Regions from separate parts of the Homo sapiens genome. Here all the other regions are linked to region 5. The links are contacts of gene promoters, found by promoter capture Hi-C in human tissues and cell types (Jung and others, 2019). All regions are on one chromosome and are shown on one strand. Each heading gives the region's core, a stretch centred on a gene start or on the middle of the fragment in contact. The rest is flanking DNA. Distances are from core to core; before and after follow the strand shown.

Evidence for each region. The method cuts DNA at HindIII sites, captures the fragments that hold promoters and counts their contacts. A contact is called where the count stands out against the background at its distance.
Region 1: a contact is called between a fragment that was not itself captured here and the fragment with the promoter of CCL21 in region 5, in 1 of the 25 tissues and cell types used here (H1 embryonic stem cells).
Region 2: a fragment that was not itself captured here is called in contact with the fragment with the promoter of CCL21 in region 5 in 1 of the 25 tissues and cell types used here (spleen).
Region 3: a contact is called between a fragment that was not itself captured here and the fragment with the promoter of CCL21 in region 5, in 3 of the 25 tissues and cell types used here (dorsolateral prefrontal cortex, liver and pancreas).
Region 4: a fragment that was not itself captured here is called in contact with the fragment with the promoter of CCL21 in region 5 in 1 of the 25 tissues and cell types used here (H1 embryonic stem cells).
Region 6: a fragment that was not itself captured here is called in contact with the fragment with the promoter of CCL21 in region 5 in 2 of the 25 tissues and cell types used here (H1 embryonic stem cells and hippocampus).

Annotation. Positions count from the first base shown.
Region 1 is chr9:34,908,011-34,911,701 of GRCh38, forward strand. It overlaps a transcript of PHF24 not described here. Among named protein-coding and RNA genes, the nearest start is that of SPATA31F3, 14 kb to the left of the region's middle. The HindIII fragment of the contact is 3,933 bases long and covers 1-3,339 here.
Region 2 is chr9:34,927,304-34,930,719 of GRCh38, forward strand. It overlaps a transcript of PHF24 not described here. Among named protein-coding and RNA genes, the nearest start is that of PHF24, 29 kb to the right of the region's middle. RefSeq lists an enhancer at 1-17. The HindIII fragment of the contact is 4,030 bases long and covers 99-3,416 here.
Region 3 is chr9:34,853,192-34,856,576 of GRCh38, forward strand. It overlaps a transcript of PHF24 not described here. Among named protein-coding and RNA genes, the nearest start is that of SPATA31F3, 41 kb to the right of the region's middle. The HindIII fragment of the contact is 5,500 bases long and covers 1-3,385 here.
Region 4 is chr9:34,890,240-34,893,727 of GRCh38, forward strand. SPATA31F3 (SPATA31 subfamily F member 3) reads right to left here. Exons shown (of 5, transcript NM_001309427.2): 4 at 2,807-2,913. It also overlaps a transcript of PHF24 not described here. Among named protein-coding and RNA genes, the nearest start is that of SPATA31F3, 3.8 kb to the right of the region's middle. The HindIII fragment of the contact is 4,006 bases long and covers 1-3,488 here.
Region 5 is chr9:34,708,655-34,712,380 of GRCh38, forward strand. It overlaps CCL21 (C-C motif chemokine ligand 21), which reads right to left and starts at 1,482. Exons shown (of 4, transcript NM_002989.4): 1 at 1,346-1,482; 2 at 1,123-1,243; 3 at 846-1,028; 4 at 351-773. The coding sequence starts at 1,412. The coding sequence ends at 740. It also overlaps a transcript of PHF24 not described here. The HindIII fragment of the contact is 9,492 bases long and covers 1-3,726 here.
Region 6 is chr9:34,871,353-34,875,163 of GRCh38, forward strand. It overlaps a transcript of PHF24 not described here. Among named protein-coding and RNA genes, the nearest start is that of SPATA31F3, 23 kb to the right of the region's middle. The HindIII fragment of the contact is 5,156 bases long and covers 1-3,811 here.

The DNA.
Region 1 (3,691 bases), core at 123-2,622, 200 kb after region 5:
TTTTGTATTTTTAGTAGAGATGGGGCTTCATCATGTTGGTCAGGCTGGTCTCGAACTCCCGACCTCGTGATCTGCCCGCCTCGGCCTCCCAAAGTGCTGGGATTATAGGCGTGAGCTGCCACACCCGGCCTCTTCACAGTAGTTTTCACCTGCTGTAAGTTTTCTCTTCTAGCTTATGGAACTAATACCATACCCCAGAAACAAATGTTTTGTAATTGAGGAAGGGGCACTTCTTGTTGTAAGGATATTTTAGGCTCCATTTAAGGCTTTTGTCTTCACTGCCACTGCCATAGACAATTCATTGATCCCTCAAATTTAAATTGGGTACATTTGTTTATGTGAAAGGCATTGTTATAGTCAAGACGGAAACAGAAAAAAAAATCCCTCTGGGAGCTTTCATTCTAGTGGAAGGAGAGAGAAAGCAAACAAATAGGAAAATATGTAGTATGTTAGATGGTGATAAGTGCAGTGGAGAAAAATAAAGAAGAGACTAAGTCAAGAGTATAAACAAGATTTGTCATTTTTAATAGGTGGCAAGGGGAGGTCTGAGAAGATGATATTGGAGCAAAGACCAGTAGGAGATAAGGGAGCAACTCATGCATGTCTCTGGGAAAAGGGAACAGGAAACATCTATAGGGAGAAGACAGGTAAAGATCCAATAAGACAGTCCCTCAAGCCAGTACACAAGGGGTTGAGGACTTCAGAAAGCCTCCATAGTATGGTGTCCTTTGGACAGACTTTGTCTCGGGTCACCACTTCAAATCCTTATAAGGACTTCTTTCTCAATCTTATTTTATCTTACCTCATCCTTTTTTTCTTTTCTTTTCTTTTCTTTTTTTTTTTTTTTCTTTTTTTGAGACAGAGTCTCACGTCGTCGCCTGGGCTGGAGTGCAGTGGTGCGATCTTGGCTCACTCCAACCTCCACCTCCCAGGTTCAAGCAATTCTCCTGCCTCAGCCTCCCAAGTAGCTGGGATTACAGGGTGCCTGCCACCATGCCCGGCTAATTTTTTGTATTTTTAGTAGAGATGGGGTTTCACCATGTTGGTCAGGCTGGTCTCAAACTCCTGACCTTGTGGTCCACCTGCCTCAGCCTCCCAAAGCGCTGGGATTACAGGTGAGCCACCATGCCCGGCCCCCTTTTTCTCTTTTTTAAGAGATGGGGTCTCACTATGTTGACTAGGCTGGCCTCGAACTCTCAGGCTCAAGCTTCCTAAACAGCTGGGATTGCAAGAGCACACCGCTATACCTGGCTCTTCCCTTATCTTATCTTTGTGTCTTTGGGGACTAATTTGTTTAGTTTTGTCTGCCCAACTTGGGAGGTTTAGCTAGCCTGTCATCAGTGGCAGCCTGGCCTTTGGCCAAGCTCTGGACAAGCACCATCCTATGGACCATTGACATTTCACGTGTTCTGCCTCATCCCAAACTGAGCCTCATCTAGGCCAAATGCTCAATTCCTGTATGGTTTCTCACTATCACATTATCTTGTATGCTTCTCTGTCTGTCACAATTTTACCAGGGACCGTTTGCAATTGCAGCAAACACTTAAGTGAACTATTTACAGAGACTACTTTGTTCTTTTGAGAGGTACCTTAGAACATAAAGAGAAGAAATCCTTTTTTTTTTTTTTTGAGACGGAGTCTCGCTCTGTCGCCCAGGCTGGAGTGCAGTGGCGCGATCTCGGCTCACTGCAAGCTCCGCCTCCCGGGCTCACGCCATTCTCCTGCCTCAGCCTCCCGAGTAGCTGGGACTACAGGCATCCGCCACCATGCCTGGCTAATTTTTTCTGTTTTTTGGTAGAGACGGGGTTTCACTGTGTTAGCTAGGATGGTCTGGATCTCATCTTCTGACCTCGTGATCTGCCCGCCTTAGCCTCCCAAAGTGCTGGGATTACAGGCGTGAGCCACCGCGCCCAGCCGAAGAAATCCTTTTAAGGAGGTTTTTCATCTTGCCTGATTAAGATGGAGTGATTGTTTTGTTTCATGTAGAAGACACCCCTCCTTCATTTCTGTACTTCAGGAGTTAATAAATGCTGGCTTTTAAATTGTATCACTTATAAAATTGTGGAAGGTCAGAGCTACTGTTTCAACCAGCCATAATAACTCTCTGTTGTATGTCTATATGTGAAAATGGGTTTTCCTGCATCTAAGCTTTCTCTCCTCTCCTTGAAGAAGGAATATAATTAGTCTTCTACAGTATTCATATTTGTCTGAAGCCAGTTTTGCCTCTTTTTTTTTGGCTCACCACTATGCTAATGAGGATCTCCTCTCTTTTGTTCTGTTCCTTTCCCTCCTTTTTTCCCCTCTCTTGGAAAACATTAAAAATTAACTTAGAAATAAAAGTCACTCTGTTATTACGTGCATACTCTAGGAATAACTAGTCCAGATAAGCAGCCAAAAATGTCTAAAAGATCTTGAAAATTTCTAAGAGAGTAGATTTTAAGTGTTCTCGCTACATACATACAAAATAAGTATGTGAGGTAGTACAAATGTTAATTAGCTCAAATTAGCCATTTCATAATGTATATTTCAAAACAACATACATGATAAACATATATAATTTGTATTTGTCAATTAAAATATGTAAGTAAATGTTTTTAAAGTCTAAAATCTTTATTAAACTGTTAGGGTTTCTTTTTGTGAACACTTAAAAGTGTATTTACATAGTAGTCTATGTTACTAAGTTATGAGATAAAAAGAAATAGATTTAAAGACTAAGGGGTTTTGTCATGATTCAGAGTCTCTAACTTTTAGTTTACCCTATAGAAAATAATGGCATATTTATCTTTAGATATATATGACTTGTATCTTGTCTTCTTTTTTTTTTTCAATTGAGATAGAGTCTCATTCTGCCACCCAGGCTGGAGTGCAGTGGCAGGAACATAGCTTACTACAGCTTCCATCTCCCAGGCTCAAGCAATCCTTCTGCCTCAGCTTCCCAAATAGCTGGGACTATAGACACACATCATCACACCTGACTAATTTTTTTGATTTTTAGTAAAGACGAGATCTCATTATGTTGCTCAGACTAGTCTTGAACTCCTGAATTCAACTGATCTTCCCACCTTGGCCTCCGAAAGTGCTGGGATTACAGGCATGAGCCACCATGCCCAGCCTATTTTGTCTAATTACTAACTATTCTTGGTTTTGCCTATCTAAAAGTCAGTCAGACTTTTTTTAAAAAAAAACTATAAAGTTGTCTTTTATGAATAAACTATATTTATAGGGTTTTCTTTTCTTTTCTTTTTCTTTTTCTTTTTCTTTTGAGACAGAGTCTCTCTCTGTCACCCAGGCTAGAGTGCAGTGGCATGATCTTGGCTCACTGCAACCTCCACCTCCTGGGTTCAAGCAATTCTCTGCCTCAGCCTCCCAAGTAGCTGGGATTACAGGTGCCCGCCACCACGCCTGGATAATTTTTTGTATTTTTAGTAGAGGCAGGGTTTCACCATCTTGGCCGGCCGGTCTTGAACTCCTGATGTCGTGATCCACCCGCCTCAGCCTCCCAAAGTGCCGGGATTACAGGCGTGAGCCACCGCGCCCGGCCTATGGGGTTTTCTAAAATGGCCATTAGGTACCATGGAGATTTGCTCCTTCAACCCATAAAAGGAAGGACAATAGGAATAGTTAGTTTTGTCTAGAAATTTTCCAAATTTCAGTTAATTCAAGCCTGCTATGTGAACTCTTTTGTTTATCA
Region 2 (3,416 bases), core at 864-3,363, 220 kb after region 5:
TGGCATAATGAGGATGGAGCGCCCCAGTGCTGGAGATATGCAGTGGCTACCGGCCCCCAGAACAGGGTGTGCTTCAGAGTTTGCTCTTTTCTCAAGATGGCATTATGCTGCAGCAGCTTGGCCCACAGGGAGTGGGATGGGGGGAATGGGGAGTGCACACCTTGCTCTCCTAATCTGGAGCAATGTAGCTGCTTGCATACCCAGCAGCTCTTCAAACTGGGCTCAGGGCTTGGGAAGACCGTAGGATTCTTCTGTAATAAGGACTGTAGGTTTTTGCAGTGCCAGTGGGGGCTGGTGGAGATCTTGTGCTTACCTTTTCCCTGCAATAAGAAGTCCTTCCTGACTCTGGGCACATCCAATCCAGGTGGGGGAGACAGGGCTATAGAGGCCCAGTGCTTCCTCGCTGCCCTCCTGGATTTCTGATCACCACAGGTGCATCTCCACTCCCCCACCACACTCCACCACTCTCCCTTCCACACTCCAGTCAAACCTTAGTTTGTTTATTCATTGTGTTGGGCCTTTCTTGTGGGATAGATGAATACCAGGCATCTCTATCCAGCCATCTTGCCAATGTCACTATTGAAGGATTTTAAGCAGAGGTGTGACTTCATGAAACTTATGTTTTAAAACATTAATGAGTTGGGAGCTGGGGGGAGGTGGGGATAGTTAATGGATATAGAAAAATAGCTAGAATTAATAAGATCTACCTTTGGACCTGCCTGGCCAACATGGTGAAACCTTGCCTCTACTAAAAATACAAAAATTAGCCAGGCATGGTGGAGAGTGCCTGTAATCCCAGCTACTTGGGAGGCTGAGACAGGAGAGTCGCTTGAACCCAGGAGGTGAAGGTTGCAGTAAGCTGAAATCACGCCATTGCACTCCAGCCTGGGCAACAAGAGTGAGACTCTGTCTCAAAAAAAAAAAAAAAAAAATCTACTCTTTGACGGCACAACAGGATGACTATAGCCAATAATAATTGTACATTTAAAAATAACTAAAAGAGTATAATTGGATTGTTTGTAACACAAAGGATAAATACTTAAGGGATAGATACCCCATTCTCCATGATGTGATTATTATGCATTGCTTGCCTGTATCAAAACATCTCATGTACCCCATAAATATATACACCTATATACCCACAAAAATTAAAAATTTTTTTAAAACCCACTAATGAGTCAACAAAGTTTATGCTTCTGCTTTGTGGCAAAAAAGACTCTCCTGAGCTAAACCTTTCCTATCAGGCCAGTCTTTTTTTCATTCTCCCTCCATCTTTTCATGTGTGATAGTCTCTTCCTGGTAAGCATTAATTCAAAGTTCAGCCCTTATAGAATTGTTCTTCCCCTCTCCCTTCTCCTATGGGAGCACAGTGTCTGTATAAGGGAAAGTTTACTGCTCTTCCCTGGGTACAGCTGGTCTATGTGTTGCCATTTTCTGCTGGACTCCAATTGAGATGTATCATCCAGCTTATCTCTAATCCATCCCTGTCCATTAACTTCTGTCCTAGAATCCACTTGGGATGGACAAACAAACACTACCACCAGAACTCTGGAAGCACCAAACTCCATTACTGCTCTCATCTCAGTAGTCCAGGAGTCCCTTGGTCTTGCAGTCCTCTTGGTACCCTGGGGCTACACAGGAACTTTTGAATCGCTTCTAGATACAGACCACTGGGAACCCAGCATGATTTCAGCAGCACTCCCTAGACACTTGCCTTCACAGATGCTGTGCTATAGCCCACTCTTCCCTCCCCCACCTCCATGTCAAACATAGAGCTTCTCTGAGGCTTGTACCCTGTCACCAAGATCAAAGGATCTCAGGTCACCCTTCTCCCTATCTGAATATTTCTATTGCATCATCCCACCTCCATACTCCCACTGTCAATGAAAAGTGCTTCTTTTTATTTCACCTCCTCTGGAGGGAGTTTCCCCTTTATCATATGCTCCTTTTGTTTGTTAGGTGGGGACCATTTTGATGGAATGGCAGCAGGGGAATATGATTGGATTTTTTAAATATGATTTGGGTTAGGGTGTCTGTGAAAAAAATCCACATCAATCTATTATCAAACTATTATCTCCATTTAAATTATTTGCTTATGGTCTGTCTCCACCAGAACAAACTCCACAAGGGTGGGACTCCCTTTTCTGTTCTCTTTACTGCTACATCTCCAGCACCTAGCACAGGGTCTATTACTCAATAAATATTTGTGGGGAAAAAAATGAAGGGATGAGATGAGCAAACTAATGAATGATGAGTGATCTTATTCTATTAGTACTGGGATCTGTTGAAGAATTTAGAGCAGAGGATTAAAGCAATCAGATTTGCAGGTAATCAAATATCGTTAAGCTGTGAGAGTCACCATAAGCAGCAATCTGTATTGTCGCCCCCTACAGCCCCGCCATGTAACAGCTATTAGCTCAAGCACACATACTGCCGTGGGAGAATTCACTGCTGCAAGTATTCAAATTTGTGATCAGCCTCCTGAGAAGAGTTGAAGAGAGATCACAAACCTAAGATGGCCTCCCCGACTCTTCATCCTCTTTTTTCCCCTACTGTTTCTCCCTAACACTGTGGTCCTTTAGTCCCCTGAAGAAGCTTTACATTGTAACCCTTTCAGAGAATTTCAGCGAGATCTGGATACCCAGCCCACTCTGCTATTATATTTGCATTTCATGCTTAATTTGTCTATAACATTACAACTTTTATACTCCTACATTTCTGCTGTTATAATCATAAAGAATACTATTTTGGGGCTTCTCTTTTGCAAGTGAAATTAGCATTTCCACGTAAAATAGAGAAGAAAAATTGTTGATCATCTCCCTAAAATGTCTGGGGCTTCATCCAAGCCTGAAGTTTAATTTCTCAGTGTCTGGGAGGAGCCACTGGTTTGTGCAGGTTTCTCAGTGTACTTAAGTGGTGCCGAGACTCATGCTTCGGGTCTCTTGTGTCGGGGATAACCTGGTTGACTCTTCCTTTGGTAAAAGAGAAGGAACGTGAGATAAGACATCCCATTTGGGTGTGTCTGAAATGATTTATCTCCTGAAATGGTTTACCATCTCTTGTTCCTTAACTTTATGGGATTTCTGACACAAGGGTAGAGTGCAGAAGCCTCTTCACTGAAGGAGGCACCCAGAATCCTGTGGGCCTGGTGTCCTAAATAAAGACAGTGCAGGACTTTGTGGCCAGTGCTCACCTCCAGAGCAGAATCAAGGGATATGTCCGGAAAGGGCTGGAAGGAAGCGAAGGAGCCCCAAATGCATTTTCACAAAGATCAGGGACATTTACTCCTGGTATTTATGAAGATTTCTAGCAATGGTATGACAATTCTTCTTCTCTTATGGAATCTTGCCATTAGGGAATTGATGTTTTTTAGAAGAACAAAGAAGCTAACAAACTTCTCAGATAGGGTCAGGGAT
Region 3 (3,385 bases), core at 431-2,930, 140 kb after region 5:
AGGCCTTTTCTGCATCTGTTGAGATAATCATGTGATTTTTGTCTTTAGTTCTGTTTATGTGATGAATTAAATTTATTAATTTGTGTATTTTGAACTGACCTTGCATCCTGGGGATGAAGCCAACATGACCATGGTGGATAAGCTTTTTGATGTGCTGCTGGATTTGGCTTGCCAGTATCTTATTAAGGATTTTTGCGTTGACGTTCATTGGGGATATTGGCCTAAAGTTTTCTTTTTTTGTTTTGTCTCTGCCAGGTTTTGGTATCAGGATGGTGATGGCCTCATAAAACGAGTTAGGGAGGAGTCCCTTCTTTTCAATTGTTTGGAATAGATTCAATAGAAATGGCACCAGCTCGGCCGGGCGCGGTGGCTCACGCCTGTAATCCCAGCACTTTGGGAGGCCGAGGTGGGCGGATCACGAGGTCAGGAGATCGAGACCATCCCAGCTAAAACGGTGAAACCCCGTCTCTACTAAAAATACAAAAAATTAGCCGGGCGTAGTGGCGGGTGCCTGTAGTCCCAGCTACTTGGGAGGCTGAGGCAGGAGAATGGCGTGAACCCGGGAGGTGGAGCTTGCAGTGAGCCGAGATCCCGCCACTGCACTCCAGCCTGGGTGACAGAGCGAGACTCCGTCTCAAAAAAAAAAAAAAAAAAAGAAATGGCACCAGCTCTTCTTTGTACCTCTGGTAGGATTCAGCTGTAAATCTGTCTGGTCCTGAGCTTTTTTGGTTGCTAGGCTATTTGTTACTGCCTCAATTTTAGAACTTGTTATTGGTCTTTTTAGGGATTCAGTTTCCTCCTAATTTAGTCTTGGGAGGCTGTATGTGTCCAGGAATTTATCCATTTCTTCTAGATCTTCTAGTTTATGTGCATAGAGGTGTTTATAGTATTCTCTGATGGTTGTTTGTATTTCTGTGGGGTCAGTGGTGATATCTCCTTTATCATTTCTGATTGTGTCTATTTGGTTCTCTCTTTTCTTTATTAGTCTAGCTAGCAGTCTATCTATTTTTTTTTTTTTTTCAAAAAAAATCAGCTTCCAGATTCGTTGCTTTTTTGAAGAGTTTTTTTGTGTCTCTGTCTCCTTCAGTTCTTTTCTGATCTTGGTTATTTCTTGTCTTCTGCTAGCTTTGGGATTTGTTTGCTCTTGGTTCTCTAGTTCTTTTAGTTGTTATGCTAGGTTGTTGATTTGAGATCTTTCTAGCTTTTTGATGTGGGCATTTAGTACTATAAATTTCCCTCTTAACACTGCTTTAGCTGTGTCCCAGAGATTCTGGTACATTGTTTCTTTGTTCTCATTAGTTTCAAAAATAACTTCTTGATTTTTGCCTTAATTTCATTATTTACCTACGAATCATTCAGGAGCAGGTTGTCAATTTCCATGAAGTTGTGTGGCTTTGAGTGAGTTTCTTAAACTTGAGTTCTAATTTTATTATGCTGTAGTATGGGAGACTGTTTGTTATTATGTCAGTTATTTTGCATTTGCTGAGAAGTATTTTTCTTCTAATTATGTTTTCAATTTTAGAGTAGGTGCCATGTGGCAATGAGAAGAATATATATCCTGTCATTTTTGGGTAAAGAGTTCTGTAGATATCGATCAGGTCCACTTTATCCAAAGCTGAGTTCAGGTCCTGAATATCTTTGTTAATTTTCTGTCTTGATGATCGGTCTAATATTGTCAGTGGGATGTTAAAATCTCCCACTATTATTGTGTGGGAGTCTAAGTCTCTTTGAAGGTCTCTAAGAACTTGTTTTGTGAATTTGAGTGCTCCTGTATTGGTGTATGTATATTTAGGATAGTTAGCTCTTCTTGTTGAATTGAATGCTTTACCATATGTAATACCCTTCTTTGGCTTTTTTGATCTTTGTTGGTTTAAAGTCTGTTTTGTCAGAAACTAGGATTATGACCCTGGTTTTTTCTGTTTTCCATTTGCTTGGTAAAATTTCCCCCATCCTTTTATTTTGAGCCTATGTGTGTCTTTGCACATTAGATGGGTCTCTTGAAGACAGCATACCAATGGGGCTTGGCTCTTTATCCAGCTTGCCATTCTGTATCTTTTAATTGGGGCATTTAACCCATTTACATTTAAGATTAACATTGTTATGTGTGAATTTGATCCTGTCATCATGATGCTAGCTAGTTATTTTGCAGACTTGTTTGTGTGGTTGCTTAATAGTGTCATTGATCTGTGTACTTCAGTGTGCTTCTTTAGTGGCTGGTAACAGTTTTTCCTTTCCCTATGTAGTGCTTATTTCAAGAGCTCTTGCAAGGCAGGCCTGGTGGTGACGAATTCCCTTAACATTTGCTTGTCCTGAAAAGGATCTTATTTCTCCTTTGCTTATGAAGCTTAGTTTGGCTGGATATTAAATTCTGGGTTAGAAATTCTTTTCTTTAAGAATGTTGAATATTGGCCCCCAATCTCTTCTGGCTTATAGTGTTTCCACTGAGAGGTCCACTGTTAGCCTGGTGGACTTCCTTTGTAGATGACCTGGCCTTTCCTTCTGGCTGCTCTTAGCATTTTTTCTTTCATTTAAACCCTGGAGAATCTGATGATTATGTGTCTTGGGGTTGATCTTGTGGAGTATCTTACTGGGGTTCTCTGGACTTCCTGAATTTGAATGTTGGCCTGTCTTGCTAAGTTGGGGAAGTTCTCCTGGATGATATCCTGAAGCATGTTTTCTGACTTGTTTTCCTTCTCCTTGTCTCTTTCAGGTACCCTAATCAGTCATAGGTTCAGTCTTTTTACATAATCCCATATTTCTCAGAGATTTCATACATTCCTTTTCATTCTTTTTCTCTATTCTTGTCTGCCTGTCTTATTTCAGAAAGATAGTCTTCAAACTCTGAGATTCTTTCCTCTGCTTGATCTATTCTGCTGTTGATATTTGTGATTGCATTATGAAGTTCTTGTGTTGTGTTTTTTAGCTCTATCAGGTCAGCTATGTTTCTCTCTAAGCTGGATATTCTGGTTATCAGTTCCTGTATTGTTTTACCATGATTCTTAGCTTCTTTGTATTGGGTTGGAACATGCTTCTTTAGCCCAGTGAAGTTCATCATTACCCACCTTCTGAAGCCTACTTCTGTCATTTCAGCCTTCTCAGCCTCAGCCTAGTTCTGTGCCCTTGCTGGAGAGGTGTTGTGATCATTTGGAGAAGAGGCACTCTATCTTTTTGAGTTTTCAGTATTTTTGTGTTGATTCTTTCTCATCTTTGTGGGCTAATCTACATTCAGTCTTTGAGTTTGCTGACCTTTAAGTGGGATTATTGTGGGGTCTTCTTGTTGATGTTATTGTTGTTGTTGCTTTCTGTTTGTTTTTCTTTTAACAGTCAGGCCACTCTTCTGTAGGGCTGCTATGGTTTGCTGGGTGTGCACTCCAGACCCCAGTTG
Region 4 (3,488 bases), core at 455-2,954, 180 kb after region 5:
GGCTGGGGAGAGCTCCAGTGCTGTCCAGACACCCCCTTCTCTGTGATTTCCAGCTGCTTTGAATGTCATCAAATGTCACTGGGTCAACTGTTTTCTCTGCTGGGGTAGGGACTTGTCCTCACTTTTGCAAAGACCTGGTCTAAGGGGCTTAGGGCCCTCCAGGCTGGGTTGTTCACTCTAGCCTCCAGCTGAACACAAAGTACCTGGGCCTCTGTCATGTCTCCACTGGGTGTGAGATCCCAGAATCCCAGTGGGCATGGGGTACTGCTATGGAACTAGATCACTTGTAGCTCTGCTGCACTGTCTTTAGTTCAACGGCAAGCTGTTCTTTCAGTCCAACCCCTTCTGGATCTGGGGCCCATGGGATGCCTGGTGGGATATGAAGTTTCTGGAGTAATGTTTTCCCTTGGTTTAGCAATCTTTAGACTCCTAAAGGATCCCTGTGTGGAGATATTCTTTGGGATGGTGAAAATTTGTTCCCTGGATTCCCTTGTTTTTATGGGACTTCCCAAATGTATCTCAAGGAATTTATTTTTCAGGTAGAAATTTAGTTTGGCCAAGATGGGTGCCTTGAGTGATTAGGGGCTGTGAGGATCTGTCTGCCTCTCTAGCGGTACCATCTCCATCAGCTTGTGTTTTAGTGCAGAACACTTGTACGTTATCTACACAAGCTTCATTGGTGTTTTGAAAGCATGGCCCAGGACTTACACATTGCTGTTCAGATGAGATTGAGTCAGAGGCTCTGATGGGCTCAATCTGTGATTGTGGATTCGTGAGTGATTGCCTGGGCCACAGCCCTGGAAAGAGCCACATAATAGAGAGCAGGCAGCCCTGACAGAAGGGCCAAAACTTGTCTCAAGTTTCTCAGTGGCTTCCTGGGACAGGGTCTGGGCAGCTCAGGATCATCAGTAACAGCATCTGGCAAGCCCTGTTGCTGCTGATCAAGGCCTGTCAGTATTCAGAGTGTCCTTTCCTGATCTGTGTAGGGGCTGATATGTGTCACTTCCAGGTCCAGGTGTTTGCTTTTCAGAGGACAGGGGCGCCAAGTTGCTTCCCAGGCCTTTGGAATACTGCAGAACCAGTGATTTGTAGTCCCAACAATGGCAGATATGGGCAGGGACAATGCCCTAGCAGATCTTCCCATATTTGTAATCTATGTGGCTCTGCAACATTACCTTGGCCTGAGGAAACAATTGCGGACTGGCCCTCCTGCCACAGTGGATCAGAGAAGGCCACTATTCCCACTAGCTTCTGGTGCTGCATGCTGGGAAGACCCACATAGGTCAGGGCTGTACTGCTCCAGGGCAGGGATTATTGGTCATCAGGTCACAGGATGAACTGGATAGACTGCTGGATCTTTTGGATCAGGTCCCAGCAATGACAAATCAACCCTCTGTTTCAATTGCTCCTGGAGGTGGAATCCTAGCAGCCTCTGGGCATGGTCTAGGAGAATGCTTCCTCCCTCTTGAGGACTGAAATGGACTTCCCCAATCAAAGAGTGTCCTGGATCTAGTGGGAAAGGCTGCAACATGTCTCAGGGCTTACATTGTATGATTTCCTGGATCTACAGAGATCTCTGGACAACAGCTGGCAAACTCCACTGAAGCTGGAGCTGCCTCTACAGCAGGTGCCACTCCAAGGCTTTCACTTAGCCTGAGTCAGATATAGGACATTGATCTGGATTTGTCAATGGTCAGATGGAGAATGTGGGGGAAAAGGTGGGGAAGGAGGGGAGATTTTAATTAGTACAGAGGTGAAGGAGAAATCATTGCAGAGAAAGGGCCAAAGCCTCCCCTGTTTTGGAGATTTCTAAAGTCAGACCAGGGATCTCTAAAGGCAGACAGTAATGTGCAGAAAAGAGAAACCACAGTAAGGTAGCTACAGATGTGGCACATTGAGGCCTCAGTGCATCCTCTAGGCAGTGGACAGAGGCCACTTAGAAGCTGAAAGAGAGGAGAGGGTAGAGCTAGAACCATGGGGTTTGGGATTTGTTCACAGTAATTTTTCTGCTCTGAGTCCATAGTGGATCCTTCAAAAACCCTGAAAGCTTAGGTGAACCAGCTAGCCTCCCATGAAACCCAGAGTCAAAGGGATGGAAGCTCATCTGTTCAGCAGAAGCCTTAGAGATAGCATTCAGAGTGAAAGAAATGGCTGTTTGTCTGTCTGTTTTCCATCCTTTGGAAAATTAGAAGTGGTGTGGTATAAGCTGCCCTGTACAGAACTCCTCCACAGATCTTGGGAGCCCTCAGTTGTGGGAATATGTGCAACAATATCCCACTTGTACTTGAAGATTCCTCAGGACTTTTTGGACATTGCAATAGCAGTTGGAAAGGAATGTAGGGTCATAGGCTGTTGTTGTAGGTTTGGGAGCTCTGGGTTCAGGGAAAGAAAGGGAATCTAGTATTCAAGGGCTGCTGACCTTGGTTCTCCAGGACAAATTTGGAGTTGTTTTTCGTCCTCTCCTGCTGGCTCAGAGGAATTCCAGGCTTCTCAAAGTTTGAAGACAGAGATCCCATGACCTGGGACACAGCTGGGACTTGAGATCTCTGTCCTCGCTGAAAGTGATCAGCCCAGGAATCTTGGACGCTGTCTGCACCAGCTGACCGGGCAGCTGACTGGGTTAAAGATTTCTGATCCATTAATTGTGACAGTGTTGGAGTTACAGATGCCAGTGAAAGCTCTTTGGATTTCGGGGAGCCCAGATCCTGACTATGCTTAAAAGACACACTAGATGTGGACAAAGCCTCTAGGCAAGAGGAGCCCTGTGATGGCCCCAGTGAAGTCAGGGAGATCTGGTTGTTCTCACCTGCCAGCAATTGCTTAATCTCCAGAGCCATAACATTGCAGATTTGGCAGCAGGGGTCTGCACACAGGATTCGCCGCACACTTCCTTCCTGAGGAAGCCAGCCCTGGCTGGGAAGAGAAACATGACAAACATTAATGATGGAGTGACATCTGCCTTCTCGGAAAAGTGTGGGCCGGGGTTGGCATTGTCCTTTCCCAGTCCTGAAAATCCTGGAGCCTACACTCTCTTGTTGTCTACCTCCCTGTTTTTCTTCCTAAGAAAATGCTATTTGGAGGCTGGACATAGTGGCTCATGCCTCTAATCCTAGCACTTTGGGAGGCTGAGGTGGATGGATCACCTGAGGTCAGGAGTTCGAGATCAGCCTGGCCAACATGGTGAAACCCCGTCTCTACTAAAAATACAAAAATTAGCCAGGCATGGTGGCGTATGCCTGTAGTCCCAGCTACTTGGGAGGCAGAGGTAGGAGAGTCCCTTGAACCTGGGAGACGGAGCTTGCAGTGAGCCGAGATTGTGCCGTTGTACTCCAGCCTGGGCAACAAGAGTGAAACTCTGTCTCAAAAAAAAAAAAGAAAAAAGAAAAGAAAAAGAAAAAGCCATTTGGCAAGGTGGGCTGGGCTGACGATCTAGAGCTTGTTGGGCAAGGCTTCAGACGACCCATGGGAGGGCGTGGCCCTCAGAGAAG
Region 5 (3,726 bases), core at 232-2,731:
CCTCTGGGATATCTGGGGAAAGGTCTGAAGGTCATGGAAAAGATCCGAAGGTCACCCCTGGAGTTAGTGCAGGACAGAATCAGGGTCTCAGAGGTCTGCAGAGCTGTTGGGGGTGTGTGCTCCATGTCCACCACCTCTCCATTGGCAGGATGCCTCAGAAGACTGGGTCCTACCCTGTCCTTCAGCCTCCCTTTAACTGCTCAGGGGTGCAGGCACCTGAGAGGCAAGGAAACTCTTGGGGTAGATGAGAACATAGCATTTTTCAGCCTGAGCTTTCGGCTCAGAGTGTGTGACCCCACCCTGTAGGAACCTTGGCATCTCGGTGGACATAAACACATGGGAACAGGTACTTGGGTGGGAAGACAGAACAGCTTTTTATTCAGTTAGGTATAAATCATATTTACAAGGAAGAGGTGGGGTGTACTGGGGAGCCGTATCAGGTCCAGGGTCCTGATGATTCTCCTTCAAGGGGACAGTCCTGCTGCCTCCTCTCATGCTCCCTGGGAGACTCTCCCTCCTCGGTCTCTCTGGACCTGGCCTGCTGTGGGCAGCTCAGCCATGCAGGGTAGAGCTGGGAATGCAGATGGGGTGGTTAAAGCAGGAGAAAGAGTGTGGCAAGGCCAGCATGGGGTGGCTGCTCCAGGGCCCCTGAGCATAGCCTCCTTCTTGCATCTTGGGTTCAGGCTTCAAGCGCTGGTGAGGCTGGTGGGGTCTCCAGGGCTCCAGGCTGCTCACTGGGCTATGGCCCTTTAGGGGTCTGTGACCGCTCAGTCCTGTGAGGGCAGAAGAGGGGTGTGAGGGGCTGACTGAGGCTCCCCTTTACCCACATCCCTCAGATTCCTCACCTCTTGCAGCCTTTGGAGCCCTTTCCTTTCTTGCCAGTCTTGGAGGCCCCCCTGTCCTTCCTGCAGCCCTGGGCTGGTTTCTGTGGGGATGGTGTCTTGTCCAGATGCTGCATCAGCTGCTGCACCCAGAGCTCCTTTGGGTCTGCACATAGCTCTGCCTGAGAGCGCTTGCGGGGCAAGAACCTGCGGGTGGGGGCTAGTAAGCCTTCTTAGTCTTGCCCACCATGCCCTCCCCACCCCGTCACCAGCCAGTACCCACCCCTTTGTGTCCACTCACAGGATAGCTGGGATGGAGCAGCCTAAGCTTGGTTCCTGCTTCCGGTAGCTGCGGACAACCTTGGCGGGAATCTTCCTTTGGCTGTACTTGAGGCAACAGTCCTGAGCCCCTCCATCACTGCCTGCAGGGTGGGATTCACAGGGAGCCAGGGGCTGCTGGCAAGCTCCTATCCAGGCCTCTTGATCCCCTTAGCCCCATGCAAGGCCCCTCCCTGCCTTGGTACCTTGGGTCCTGGGGATGCCAAAGGCCAGAACCAGGATAAGGAGGCTCAGAGCCAGTGACTGAGCCATGTCTGTGGTAGAGGGTGAGTAAGAGGCCAGAGCTGAGGGTGAGGTGGGCAGCTGCAAGTTGGGGGTCTGTGCGTGGGCTGGGATTGGCCTGCTATTTATGTAGCTAGACACTTTCACTTCCCTTAACTTATCCCCACTCCTTTTCCTTCCTGAAAGCTGGATTTGCTGGCACCCAGCCCCACTTATCTCAAACTAAGTGGACAGTCCTCAGCTGCCAAATTTTATGTCCTCATTAGTTGAATATGTCTGGGCCTGAGCCTTCCTTCTATTCCCAGCTACTGCTTTCATGCAGGCCTCACTGCCTCTCCCCTGGAACACCATGACTGTCTCCTCACTACGCTCCAGGATCCATACCCTTCCCCTCCTTCCAGCAAATCTGATTATTAAATTGTAAGAGTTCTTTTTTTTTTTTTTTTTTTTGAGACAGGGTCTAACTCTGTCACCCAGGCTGGAGTGCAGTGGTTGATCTTGGCTCACTGAAATCTCCGCCTCCTGGGCTCGAGTGATCCTCCTACCTCAACCTCCCCAGGAGCTGGGACTACAGGCAAGCACCACTGCGCCTGGCTGATTTTTCTATTTTTTTTTTGTAGAGACGAGGTTTCACGATGTCTAGCCCAGGCTAGTCTTGAGCTCCTGGGCTCAAATGATCTGCCTGCCTCAGCCTCTTGAGGAGCTGGGACCACAGGCACATGCCACTACGTCCGGCTACTGTTTTCATTTTTCATTTTTATTTTTTCTAGAGATGAGGTCTTGCTATGTTGCCCAGTCTGGTCTTGAACTCCTGGGCTCAAGCGATCCTCCTGCCTTGGCCACCCAAAGTGCTGGAATTATAGGTATGAGCGACTGCACCTGGTCTGTAGCATAACCATTTTGATTCCCCTTTGCTTTCCTTTTCTATATATTTTGTAGTTATTTTCCTAATGGATACCTTGGTGATTATAATTAACATTCTAAACTGATAACAACCTAGTTTGAATAATACCAACTTAGTTTCAATGGTATATAAACATTTTGCTCGTATACATTTTAGTCCCTTCTTTATATTGTTATTGTCACAGATTACATCTTTATACATTGTGTTCCCATTGACATAGATTTATAATTATTGTTTAATGCATTTTCCTTTTAAATTATATAGAAAAAAGTGGGGCTACAAACTAAAAATACAATACTAGCTTTTATCTTTTTTTTTTTTTTTGACACAGGGTCTCGCTTTGTCACCCAGGCTGGAGTGCGGTGGCACAATCTCAGCTCACAGCAGCCTCGACCTCCTGGGCTCAAGTGATCCTTCCACCTCAGTCTCCTGAGTAGTGGGGCCACCATGCCTGGCTAATTTTTGTATTTTTTGTAGACACGAGGTCTCACTATGTTGCCCAGGCTAGTCTCGAACGCCTGACCTCAAGCAATTCACCCGCCTTGGCCTCCCAAAGTAATGGGATTACAAGTGTGAACCAGCATACCTGGCAATGTTGTTACTTTTTTTTTTTTTTTTTTGAGACAGAGTCTCACTCTTTCGCCCAGGCTGGAGTGCAGTGGCGTGATCTTGGCTCACTGCAACCTCCACCCTCCGGGTTCAAGCCATTCTCCTGCCTCAGCCTCCCGAGTAACTGGGATTATGGGCACCTGTCACCACATCCAGCTAATTTTTCTATTTTTTGTAGAGATGGGGTTTCACCATGTTGGCCTGGTTGGTCTCAAACTCCTGACCTCAAATGATCCGCTCACCTTGGCCTCCCAAAGTGCTGGGATTACAGACATGAGCCACTGCGCCCAGCCTGCTATGTTGTTATGTTTATCAGAGATCTTTGTTTCTTTGTGTGGCTGTGAGTTATTATTTTTTGTCCTTTTGTTTCATTCTGAAGGTCTTCCTTTAGCATTTGTTTGTTTGTTTGTTTGTTTTTTCTTTCTCCCGTTAGCTTTTCTTGTGGGCAGGTCTACTATTAATGAACTTCCTAAGTTTTGTTTATCTGGAAATGTCTTATTTCTCCTTAATTCTTGCAGCATAGTTTTGCTGGATATATAGAATTCTTGTTTGACTTTTTTTTTTCTTCAGTCTTTAAATATATCCCCCATTGTCTTTTGGCCTCCCATGGTTTCTGAAATCAGCTGGTAATCTTATTGAGAATCTCTTGTACATAATGAGTTACTTCTCTCTTGCTGCTTTTAAAATCTTTGGGTTTCAACAATTTGACTATAATTTGTCTTGGTGTGGATCTCTGAGTTTATCCTTCTTAGAGTTTGTGAACTTCTTGGGTATGTATATTCATGCTTTTCATCAGATTTCAGATGTTTTGTCATTATTTCTTCAATTTTT
Region 6 (3,811 bases), core at 63-2,562, 160 kb after region 5:
GTGTATTTTGCAAATATTTTCTTCCAGTATGTGGTGTGTCTTCTCATTCTTTTGACATTGTCTTTCAGAGAGAAGACTTTTTTCATTTTAATGACGTCCAGCTTATCAATTATTTCTTTCACAGATCATGACTTTGATGTTATACCTAAAAAGTCATCATCATACCCAAGGTCCATTAGGTTTTCTCCTATGTTATCTTTTGGGGTTTTTTAGGTTTCTGTTTTATGTTTAGGTCTATGATCCATTTTGAATTAAGTTTTGTAAAGGATGTAAGGTCTGTGTCTAGGTTCATTTTTGCATATTGATGTTCAGTTGTTCCAGCACCATTTTCTCCTTTGTCAAAGATCAGTTATATTTCTGTGGATCTGTTTCTGGGCTCTCTATTCTGTTCCATTGATTTATGTGTTCTTCACCACTACCACACCGTCTTGATTACTGTGGCTTTATAATAAGTCTTGAAGTTGAGTAGTATCAGTCCTCCAACCTTGGTCTTCTCCTTCCATGTTGAGATAGTCTTTTACCTCTCCATCTAAACTTTAGAAGCAATTTGTCATTATCCATAAAATAGCTGCTGGAATTTTTATTGGGATTGCATCAAAGCTGTAGATCAAGTTGTGAAGAACTGAGATCTTGACAATATTGTCTTCCTATTCATGAATGTTGAATATCTTTCCATTTATTTAGTTCTTCCTTGATATCTTTCATCAGGGTTTTGCATATGTATATATTTATTTGTTTTCCTCATAAAGATCTGGTACATAGTTTGTTAGGTTTATACCTATGTATTTCTTTTTTCCTTTTGAGTGCCAATGTAAACAGCAATTTATTTTTATTTTTATTATTTTTTTATTTTTTATTTTTTTATTATTATACTTTAAGTTTTAGGGTACATGTGCACATTGTGCAGGTTAGTTACATATGTATACATGTGCCATGCTGGTGCGCTGCACCCACTAACTCTTCATCTAGCATTAGGTATATCTCCCAATGCTATCCCTCCCCCCTCCCCCCACCCCACAACAGTCCCCAGAGTGTGATATTCCCCTTCCTGTGTCCATGTGATCTCATTGTTCAGTTCCCACCTATGAGTGAGAATATGCGGTGTCTGGTTTTTTGTTCTTGCGATAGTTTACTGAGAATGATGATTCCCAATTTCACCCATGTCCCTACAAAGGACATGAACTCATCATTTTTTATGGCTGCATAGTATTCCATGGTGTATATGTGCCACATTTTCTTAATCCAGTCTATCATTGTTGGACATTTGGGTTGGTTCCAAGTCTTTGCTATCGTGAATAATGCCGCAATAAACATACGTGTGCATGTGTCTTTATAGCAGCATGATGTATAATCCTTTGGGTATATACCCAGTAATGGGATGGCTGGCTCAAATGGTATTTCCAGTTCTAGATCCCTGAGGAATCGCCACACTGACTTCCACAATGGTTGAACTAGTTTACAGTCCCACCAACAGTGTAAAAGTGTTCCTATTTCTCCACATCCTCTCCAGCACCTGTTGTTTCCTGACTTTTTAATGATTGCCATTCTAACTGGTGTGAGATGGTATCTCATTGTGGTTTTGATTTGCATTTCTCTGATGGCCAGTGATGAGCATTTTTTCATGTGTTTTTTGGCTGCATAAATGTCTTCTTTTGAGAAGTGTCTGTTCATGTCCTTTGCCCACTTTTTGATGGGGTTGTTTGTTTTTTTCTTGTAAATTTGTTTGAGTTCATTGTAGATTCTGGATATTAGCCCTTTGTCAGATGAGTAGGTTGTGAAAATTTTCTCCCATTCTGTAGGTTGCCTGTTCACTCTGATGGTAGTTTCTTTTGCTGTGCAGAAGCTCTTTAGTTTAATTAGATCCCATTTGTCAATTTTGGCTTTTGTTGCCTTTGCTTTTGGTGTTTTAGACATGAAGTCCTTGCCCATGCCTATGTCCTGAATGGTATTGCCTAGGTTTTCTTCTAGGGTTTTTATGGTTTTAGGTCTAACATGTAAGTCTTTAATCCATCTTGAATTAATTTTTGTATAAGGTGTAAGGAAGAGATCCAGTTTCAGCTTTCTACATATGGCTAGCCAGTTTTCCCAGCACCATCTATTAAATAGGGAATCCTTTCCCCATTTCTTGTTTTTGTCAGGTTTGTCAAAGATCAGATGGTTGTAGATATGCGGCATTATTTCTGAGGGCTCTGTTCTGTTCCATTGATCTATATCTCTGTTTTGGTAACAGTACCATGCTGTTTTGGTTACTGTAGCCTTGTAGTATAGTTTGAAGTCAGGTAGCGTGATGCCTCCAGCTTTGTTCTTTTGGCTTAGGATTGACTTGGTGGTGTGGGCTCTTTTTTGGTTCCATATGAACTTTAAAGTAGTTTTTTCCAATTCTGTGAAGAAAGTCATTGGTAGCTTGATGGGGATGGCATTGAATCTATAAATTACCTTGGGCAGTATGGCCATTTTCATGATATTGATTCTTCCTACCCATGAGCATGGAATGTTCTTCCATTTGTTTGTATCCTCTTTTATTTCATTGAGCAGTGGTTTGTAGTTCTCCTTGAAGAGGTCCTTCACATCTGGTTGGATTCCTAGGTATTTTATTCTCTTTGAAGCAATTGTGAATGGAAGTTCACTCATGATTTGGCTGTTTGTCTGTTACTGGTGTATAAGAATGCTTGTGATTTTTGCACATTGATTTTGTATCCTGAGACTTTGCTGAAGTTGCTTATCAGCTTAAGGAGATTTTGGGCTGAGACAATGGGGTTTTCTAGATATACAATCATGTCATCTGCAAACAGGGACAATTGGACTTCCTCTTTTCCTAATTGAATACCCTTTATTTCCTTCTCCTGCCTAATTGCCCTGGCCAGCACTTCCAACATTATGTTGAATAGGAATGGTGAGAGAGGGCATCCCTGTCTTGTGCCGGTTTTCAAAGGGAATCCTTCCAGTTTTTGCCCATTCAGTATGCAGAAAAGGCCTTTGACAAAATTCAACAACCTTTCATGCTAAAAACTCTCAATAAATTAGGTATTAATGGGACGTATCTCAAAATAACAAGGGATATGCTTTTTCAATCCACTCGTTTCTCACCTCTTTCTGGAGTTTCTTATATGTACCCCACTGCCTGCCCAGGATCTAACCAATTCACCATTTGAGATTTGTTGCTCCAGACATTTTGTTCCTGTTGGATTGACTCTGTTTTTTTCTCTTTGTTATAGCATGAGTATATCACAAGTTATTTAGTAATTCCCCTAATAGGGGGAATTACTAAATAAGTTGTTTCTGCCTCTTAATCACCATAAACAATGCTCCAACAAACATTCATTTAGATATGCCTGCAGGTCAGAAAGGATCAGCCTCTCACATAGCACAGGGTTTTATCCAGTCAAAGGTAAGTTAGTAGTGTCCGTTTTCACTAGACCTTTCAATCACACAGACTCTTCTTAAATTTTTATTATTATTTTTTAAAATTTTTGTGGGTACATAGTAAGTGTATATATTTAAGGGGTACTTGAGATGTTTTCATACAGGCATGCAATATGAAATAGGCACGTCATGGAGAATGGGGCATCTGTCCCCTCAAGCATTTATCCTTTGGGTTACAAACAATCTAATCTAATTATTAACACATTTTTCAAGTTATTTTAAAATATACAATTATTACTGATTATAGTCACCTTATTGTGCTATCAAATAGTAGGTCTTATTAATTAATTCTATCTTTTTGAACCCATGAACCATTTTCACCTTCCTCTCAAACCCCACATCCTTCCCAGCCTCTGGTAACCATCCTACTCTATATCTGTGAGTTCAA